Regions from separate parts of the Homo sapiens genome. Here region 1 is linked to region 2. Evidence: promoter capture Hi-C in human tissues and cell types (Jung and others, 2019). All regions are on one chromosome and are shown on one strand. The core of a region is centred on a gene start or on the middle of the fragment in contact, and the rest is flanking DNA. Distances in the headings are between cores, read along the strand shown.

Region 1 (4,462 bases), core at 1,145-3,644, 1.1 Mb before region 2:
CGGGTGGTCCACCAAAGTTGTGATTGTTCTGGTTAAATATATGCCTGTTGTCAGGGGCAAATTCCCCACTGTCCTGACTGTTGCTGTCTTCAGAAGGAGGAACAATGTCCATTGGGCCTGGTGTTGGTGGCATCCATGGCTGATCTGGAGGGGGGTGTGGGGGTTGCTGATGCATTCCCCATTCTATTTAAGATTTAGGCATAAAAACATTCAACAGGCGGTTATAACAAAATCAACACAGAATTTTAAGATCTCAAGAAAGATTTTTCAGTAAACATACAGATTTAAAAAACAACTTATGACTTCTTGGTCAAATTCCTTTTGTTTATCTTAAAAATAAGCAATGAACTAAACTGTCATATATAATTCAAAATGAGCTAACTCCACTCTAATTCATATCCTAACCAAATGCCCAAAGTTATTTTTAACAAATGTAACAAAATCCAAAGCACTATTTTTGTTGAATTTTTATATTTGTTTAGTAACAACACCACAAAAATAATACCTTGAGGTTTTATATAATTTCTTTCTTACACGAACACATTTATCCTCACAACATCCCTGTGAGGTAGGGAGAAATTAGGTATTATTTTTGCCAATTTCGGGAGGGAAAATCGAGGCACACAGAGGTAAATCACTTGCCCAGGGTCACAAAGTAGAGTAAAACTAAGGGGTAGGGATGCCCGCGGGAGTCATTTAAGAACTTAAACTTAGGAACTAAAACATTTTCAAATGTGGGGAAATTTCACTTTCAAGAAAGCTAGAAATGAACCACCTCACAGTATCAAAGACTAGAATATTTATGTTTTTAAAAGTAATCTGAATTCTCGTTTTTTTTGTTTGTTTGTTTTAAATGAGGGACTCATTCTGTCACCCAGGCTGGAGTGCAGTGGCGTGATCACAGCTCATTGCAGTCTCAATCCCCTAGGCTCAAGCAATCCTCCCACCTCAGCCTCCCAAGTAGCTGGGACTACAGGCATGCGCCTCTATGCCTGACTAAGTTTTAAGGTTTTTTTTTTTTTTTTTTTTGTAGAGACAGGGCCTTGCTATGTTGCCCAGGCTGGTCTCGACTGAGGTCTCCATTCTTATAAGGAGAAACAAAAAGTATTAATAGGGAAAGGAGGTTATGACTTCACCATCAGCATACCCAAATGAGAGGCTGATTCCTCCATAGTTTCAAGTGACTATTAAAAAGGAATAACACAAGCCATGGAAGACTGAATTAGCATCAAGAAATCTACATCATACTGTGAAATAAAACAAACAAAAAAGTAAAACACACAAAAACTTATGAAAGATCTTCACTATCTGAAAAAAAAAAAGGGAAGAAAAAGGTAGGCGGATGGTAGGGGCAGAGTATATTTGACAGACTAATTTGTCACACAGTGACACAATTTTTCTTTAATTAGAGGCTAGACATGTTTTACTCTGCCAGTGCTGCTTCTGAAAAGGCCAGAGGTTGCAATAGAGAGACAAAGAATGCTCTCTTCCCTAGATGCCAAGTGAGGTTTCCAGAGTGTTCCCAGCCCCTGTCAGCCTAGGAATGAAGAACCAAGAAAAGAATCAAACTGAGTGCCACAAAGCTAGCAGAATGAGTACAGAATAATTTTAACCACAAAATGTCAAAGTCAAATCAAATTGAAAACTGCCTATTCTTTAAGAAGCATTAATTTCCAGAAGTCATACAACTAAGCAAATTAAAAAATTTAATAATAATCTTCATTCTGTTTTTTAAAAGTCTTAAAATTGTGAAAACATAAACAACAAACCTGGTTGCCACATTCTGTTGAAGTTTGAATCCCCTTGGAAATTCCCATGATTGTTTGGACCAGATTCCATTGTAGACATATCTTGTCCATTTGGCATCATTCCTGGTGGTTGTTCTACCATGCTTTGCTGTCCTGAAGCTTCTCTTTGGGCAATCCAAGCTTGGGCCAATGCAGCCCAATCAATCTGGCCTAACGTAAATTAACACTGACTTCAGCATTCAGAATGTAGGAGTTAAAAGAATAGTGCCTCTATGTAAAATAAGCAGCTCAACTATTCCTTAGATCTTAAATATTTCAGACAGAGAGGGTATGAGGGAAATTAGAAAAATTTTTTTTGAATGAGATCTTAAATATTAAAGCATACTGTGTCTGAAAGGGTACTTAGCAAATAACCCATATTCAGGCTAAAAAATAATATAAACTACTTACACTTTCAGGAAAGAACTCCACAAAAAACACTCTTAACCCATTTCTAATATTAATTCATATAAAATTTATCCCCTGCATCTTAGTTTACTGAATTTTTAAATGTCATCACCTTTACAAAAAAAAAATCACCACAAAAATAATCAAACGCTATCATTTCTTCCTTCAACATGTCCTATTTATCTTTCCAGGCCTGCATTCGAGCCTATAGGCCTTTGATGAGAGCAGCTACCTAACTCTGTTTTTCCTTATGGTTGCCCTTCTTTAAATAAGGCTCCCTTCTCTAGCCAAAACATGACTAGTGTAGTCTGGCTACAACTTCTTAGCCAGTCTTTACTCAAAATTCATTTCCCCACTATCTTGAAGACTCTCTTCCCAAGATACATTTTTTTAATTTCTAAATTTTTACGTATCTATCCATCCATCCATCCATCCATCCATCCATCCATCCATCCATCCATTCATCCATGATCCATCCATCCATCCATGTAGAGTCTGGGTTATGAGCCTGGCTAATTTTTGCATTTTTGGTAGCGATGGGGTTTCATCATGTTGCCCCGGCTGGCCTCAAACTCCTGAGCTCAAGCGATTTGCCCACCTCAGCTTCCCAAAGTGCTAGAACTACAGGCATGAACCACCGCACCTGGCCTCTCTTCCCAAGCATCTACATTTAACATTTCAAGATCTTTTTAATAATTTTTATTTTGCAAGTCCACCCAAAAATGCATTAAGATCTAATATTAATAAAGTAAACAAAGTAGAATAAGATATGTTTTTCTGCATCTTACTTTAATGAAGATTAAATAGGTATTCTCAGTTTGAAACACTGGCATAACCCCTATGGGGTTACACATGGCAATGTGCACCTGAAATTACCGTGACTTAACAAACCTAGCTCTTTTAATAAGAAAATAATTGGACAAGTGAATAACAATATGTACACAAGATTATGCTAATTGTTTCAAAAAGTGAAAAACTTTAAATAACAAAACACCCAAAAGTGGCTTTGTTAAATTATGGTACAATCCTACAATAGAATGATACATGGCTATTAAAAAAAGAAATAGCATCAGATCAATCCAGTGAGGGCAGAGCAACGTAAGTGGTCTTACGGATGAAACAAAATTGGCCACTAGTTAACAATTGTTAAAGCTAAATAATAAACAAGGGCTCCCTATACTCTTCTACCTTTGTATGTGTGCCTGAAATAGTCCACAGCAAAAAGAAATTTTAAAATGATATAGCACACCATCCAGTTCAATATAATATACAACTTTAAGAGTCAGAATTCACAGAAGTGTTCTCCATAAGCAACATATTTTAGGCTTTTCTCTTTCTTTAGAAAAACAAGGACTAAATCAGTTTAAAAAATGTAAAATCTTCAAAAAGCTTTCTACATTTTGAGAGTCTTCCAAAGGGAAGTCCATTTCCTGCTATATATGCTATGGCAAGGCTATTTATGAGAAGATTAAATTCTGACCATAAAATGATCCAGTACACCAATCTCAATTCCATATCCCTTAATCCCATCATGTGTCTTCTACCCATTTCCACATATCCAACCCCGCCCTTTCAAATTCAATTTGTTTCCTTACTTGGATCCTGTTGGTGCTGGAATGACTGCATCCATTGTTGCTGGTTCAAGGGCCACTGCTGCCAAGGCTGTCCTCCTTGATCCCACATCCCTTCTTTTAAAATATACTTGATTTTCTATCTTCAATAAATTAAACATAGTTTAAAAATTATAGTGAGTTATTTAATCTTAAAACCTCACATCAGAAATTATTATATGATGATACATTTATTTCATCAGAGGTCTAAAATTCTTGTCAATAGCTTGCCAGAGGCAACTAGAATTTTTAGGGTACCAAACGAGGTAGAAAATTTTATGTTAATGCTGGTCTCAGAATTTGGTGGCAAGCATAACACAATGAATTTAGCTCAAAAAAGACTTTAAAAAAAACTCTATTTTTTGTACAATATAAATTTCTGGATATGTAATTATTTTGAAGATTGTAGGAAAAAAGTGATTTCATTTCTCCCCAATCAAGATTCCTTTAAGATAGTAACCAAATAGCTTCAGCAGATGAAGAAAAATTTTTCCTTATAAATAATTACAGCTAAAAAAATGAAGAATGTAGAACAGAATTAGAAAACTATCATATTGCCAAAAGTAATAAAATATTAATTCAGGAAACCTTACAAGAAAAGTTGATGAGAAATCAGAAATTCAAAGGTTGCCAAAATATCACCCCTACAGATTATTA
Region 2 (4,272 bases), core at 1,464-3,963:
CCAGGGGTCAAATCAGAAGTTCTCATTTGTAAATAAACACAATTCTTTCCCTTGGATTTTTGTTTGTTTGCTTGTTCAGTAATCCCTCTTTTACATTTCTGAATCCCCTTCCCCCAGCAAAGACATATCTAAAATATTTTTAAAAATCTGTTTGCATTATTTGAATCCAAGTAAAGGAAAAGATGGACAAATAGAAAAGTGTCCTTTTCTAGTAAGTATAAATGGTTGTATATAGGACAGTGTTCTATGAAAGCTGCTCTGTCCTCACACAGTGAATCTTGATAATCTAAATATGAGTTTTAAATCATGTCAACAGCTCAGCTATTCTAACTTCTAGGCCTTATAAGACAATTTTCTCAGGATCTATTTGCCAACCTGCCACCCAGAAGATATTTTCTAAGCGGGCTAGCCATCTTAATTCAATCTTATGTATTTTAGGACTAGCCTATTATCTTACAGATAACATCAAGCCCACAGTTGCAAATCATCAAGCTCCAGAGTTAGTTTCAGAATCTGCGAATGTCTTGAAAACTCGGAATAAATTTGCTTAGAATTTATTTAAGAACTTGAGTAAATTCAGGCATACTTGTTCACAAATATGCATGTTACTCATTTGCAAATCTTTAGATATATAGAGAAATTATTATCTGGCCTATCTAGCTCCAGGTACATGGGTCTATCCACACCTGGCAAAAAAAAAATACAGAATTAGGCGGTGCTCCTGGTTTTTACTGGACAAAATTCTAACAAGAGGAGTAAAAAAGAAAGTCATGTTTGGATTAGTAGTACTTTCAATTGAGCCTAGTATCTGAAGTGTTGACAAAAGGACTGTTGGGCTGCTTCCCAACCAAACATATCTGATGGACTGAAGAGAAAGTATTGATGGGGAGGTAGAGGGAGCCTCAAAAAAGCGACAGAAATTCTGAGTTCAGTGAGGACCTTAGTGAAGCAGCCGAGCTAAACTTCCCTTTGCAAAATATATATGTAAATATGTATGCATTTCTCTGGTCACTGATGTCGGCTCATTGCCTGGCAAATCCCCGGCCCCTTCTGCCTTTGAAATTCCATCTGGGCAAAGTCACTTACCTTCTGGGAACACCACTCTCATTTTGAGATAGCTGGTCGTGAGTCTGATTATGGATGCTTTGTCCAGCTGCGAGGTGATAGCCGAGGGCAAAGGCAGTAATTTAGCCAGTTCATAAAATTCACTGTTTTCCTTCTCCCTCCTAGTCCGCGCAGCATTTTTGGACTTTTCTTTCATTGTGTCTTGTTCCCCCTTTCTTCTCACAACTTAAGCTCCGCAGATTCATCCAAAACCAAAAATAAACTTTCAATTAGAGATCATATTTGGCAAAAACATAAAACATACTTTGAATAAAGAGGCTGAAGTATTTGCACCAAGAACAGTGTATTGATGGCAGTAAAAGACCAGCGGGGGTGAACGGAAAATATGTTCTTTGAAAATTCGGGATGCAGTATAGGAAAGTTGCTGATCCACCGAATTTGGGCGATCCACCGAATTTGGGCAATCCTGAGGGTCGTTCAGGGTATCAAATGCCAGTGGGACCCCTGAGGAGCCAGCCTTTTCTTCTACTGCCAGCTGCGAACCCTGGTCCTCGGAAAATCGACATAATAATCCCTGACGTTTGCTCTTCAGTCTCGCGGCATTTAAGGTATCTCCGAGCCCCTTTGGGAAGAGCAGGAACCCCAGACAACTCTTTCAAGGCCCTGTGAAGACAACAGCATCAGAGCATAAGAGATCAGCGGCTCCACAAGTACTCACACACTCGTCCCAATTCCAAAAACACGGCCGGAAAGGGCCTCAGTGCGCCTAGCCAGGCGTTTTGGGTTTGTTTTTAAAGAAACGGGTAAATCGGCAGCGAGACAGCCCCCTGCAAATAATGCTGGCATTCCCTCACCCATGCCAGCCGCATCCTCCAGACCCCTGGGAAGTTGCCCAAACAACAAAATACATATTTCTGAAGACCCGCAAGGGATCTTCCGCCGCGGATCCCCGAGTCCGCGCCCAGGCCGGGCGCACGTCCCAGGAAAGCAGGTTTCCGCAAATCAGAATTCCTCCAAGGCGAGGCAGGGGCCTTTCAGCTCCCTACCTTGGCAGATCTGGACCTTGGCTACCTCTTTAACTTGGGTCTCAAGTCTGAGGGATTCCTCAAAAAGTGACACTTACACACCAAGTCTCTCGGGACTCCCAAGGCGACCCAGCGCTCTGGCTGCCCAGCAGGGGCTGCAACAAGCGGGGCCCAGCAGCGCCAGGTTAACAGGTGGCGCGCTCGCGACAGCCCCTCGCAGGCTCCCCCGGGGGTGGGAGGCGCCGCGGCCTCTCCCACACCACCGCGGAGCTGCGGGGCTGCTGGGCGGGCGCGGGGCGTCTTCTGCTTCACCTACCTTCAGTCCCCACAAGCGGCAGAGGTTTCGGGGGCGCCCATCTCTTAACTGTTCTCATGCCTACCGTCCAACCCAGCGACACCGCCGGCCTCTCCGCTTCCCACCGGCAGAGAGGAGCAGAGCATTCCCGGCTCCCTTTTCTGGATCATGAATTGGAGGAGGGGTGCGTGGCAGAAAGAGGAGGATGCAAGCTTTGGGACGAGTGAGGTGATTTTAGAATCCTGGTCCTCCGTAGTTGCTACGAAGCCAGTTCACTATTATTCCTAATTGGAAGCCGAAAACTGCCCCCCGTAACTTCTTTATAGCTTAAGGGTTTAGCTTCAACTTCACTCCGGGGCCGCCTCTCTCCCGCCCTCCCTCAATGCCACTCACAAGCCCCCTCGCCTCCCATTGGCCTGGCGCGGCCAGGGGCGAGGCGCTCATTGGCCAATAGGGCTGAGTGACACGAGTCGGCCCCGAGCCGCCCTCCGCGCGCCCAGGCTCCGGGCTCTGAATCTTACTACCCGCGGGACCGCTGGACTCCTAATGAGCTCAGGGTGCCGGGTCGGCGCTGTCCGGTTGCCGCCGCTGCTCGCGGCCTCCTGGGCCTTCCCGACGTCGTGCGCGACCCGCGCTCCTCGAGCTCCCTGGGGTCGGGTGGTTGAGCGCTCAGTCCAGCGCGGCGGCCCAGCAGAACCGGGAACGTCCGGAGGCAGCGGAGGTCGGGCCTGCGGGTTAGGTCTACCGGCGGAGGAGGCAGGGTTCGCCCAAAGGCCCATCCCGCTGGCAGTCGCTGGCCGACGGCGTGCGCGAGGCCGGTTTGGGGAGTTATTTTCTCTTTCTCGTTTCTCTGAAACCATGGCGACACGGAATTCATTGCCAGAGGAAATAAATACAATAACTGTCTTTAAATTAATCCCAAAGAAGTGCGTCTTTTTCGAAATGGCTTGGGTTTGGGGCTGATTTTTTTCACCGTGGAAACTCGGCCGGGGAGTTTTCCTATGGGGAGCAGCTAGGGGGACACTAGGGGAAAAGCTTACATTTCAGGGCAAAATAGAATGATTGATATAGAGATACATAGCTCCCAACAGTCCTTTATCTTAAACATTAGCCAACTCTTTGTCGGGTTTTGTTTCAGGAAACAAAAGTCCAACATGATTATTCCTTACAGAAAGGATACAGTCTACATGAATGAACTTAACGATGCTCGCGGTTCCCTAATAGGAGCTGTTTAAACAAACGCTCACCAGGACTCTTGCTGACTAATTATCTTTTAGAGACCCTCTAATTTGAACCGCCTTCTCTTTCTCTCATCTGAGAAAACACAACAGGTAGCATCAAGAAAAAGTCAAATTGTCCCAAAAACAATTGTTGTCCTCACGAATCACCCCCTACAGACTCGACTCCCGGCTTGGTTTTGGTACGCCGGTGACCAGATTCGGCTCCTAGAGGTGCGTTTGGAGGGAGTTGTTTCATCTACCATAAAAATCAGTGAGAACACCAGTGACGGGGCACTCATCCTCTCGTTTGTGGCGCTAATTGCCACTGAGAAAATAAATACTTTGAAGAGGGGTGTGTGCCATTCTGCTGATATTCAGAACAACTTTAAGAGTGTTTGTTCAAAAATACAGACATCTGCCACCTCCTTGCCGCCCGATGGCAGTAAGATAGTCGTAGAAGGACAACAGCAGCTTTCTGGTGTTATTTACATATCTGGGCAACACCTGGCTGGAGGAGGTGAAAGTTTTGGATAGAAAGAAAAAGAAAGAAGCACGGAGATTTTGTAGGTCTTTCAAAACTGGAATCCAGCTAATGGACTCTAATCTAGGAGGAGTCATTTCCCCAGTGGCTGTAGCCACTTAGAGATCTGGTTCTGGGCGCCTTCCA

The links. Contacts are between HindIII fragments. The study calls those that stand out against the background at their distance.
Region 1: a contact is called between a fragment that was not itself captured here and the fragment with the promoter of SIM1 in region 2, in 1 of the 25 tissues and cell types used here (dorsolateral prefrontal cortex).

What each region holds. Positions count from the first base shown.
Region 1 is chr6:99,410,782-99,415,243 of GRCh38, forward strand. PNISR (PNN interacting serine and arginine rich protein) reads right to left here. Exons shown (of 12, transcript NM_032870.4): 3 at 3,791-3,909; 4 at 1,770-1,958; 5 at 1-183. The coding sequence starts at 3,878. Among named protein-coding and RNA genes, the nearest start is that of PNISR-AS1, 12 kb to the right of the region's middle. The HindIII fragment of the contact is 4,631 bases long and covers 80-4,462 here.
Region 2 is chr6:100,462,208-100,466,479 of GRCh38, forward strand. It overlaps SIM1 (SIM bHLH transcription factor 1), which reads right to left and starts at 2,714. Exons shown (of 12, transcript NM_005068.3): 1 at 2,407-2,714; 2 at 1,087-1,728. The coding sequence starts at 1,261. The HindIII fragment of the contact is 4,452 bases long and covers 628-4,272 here.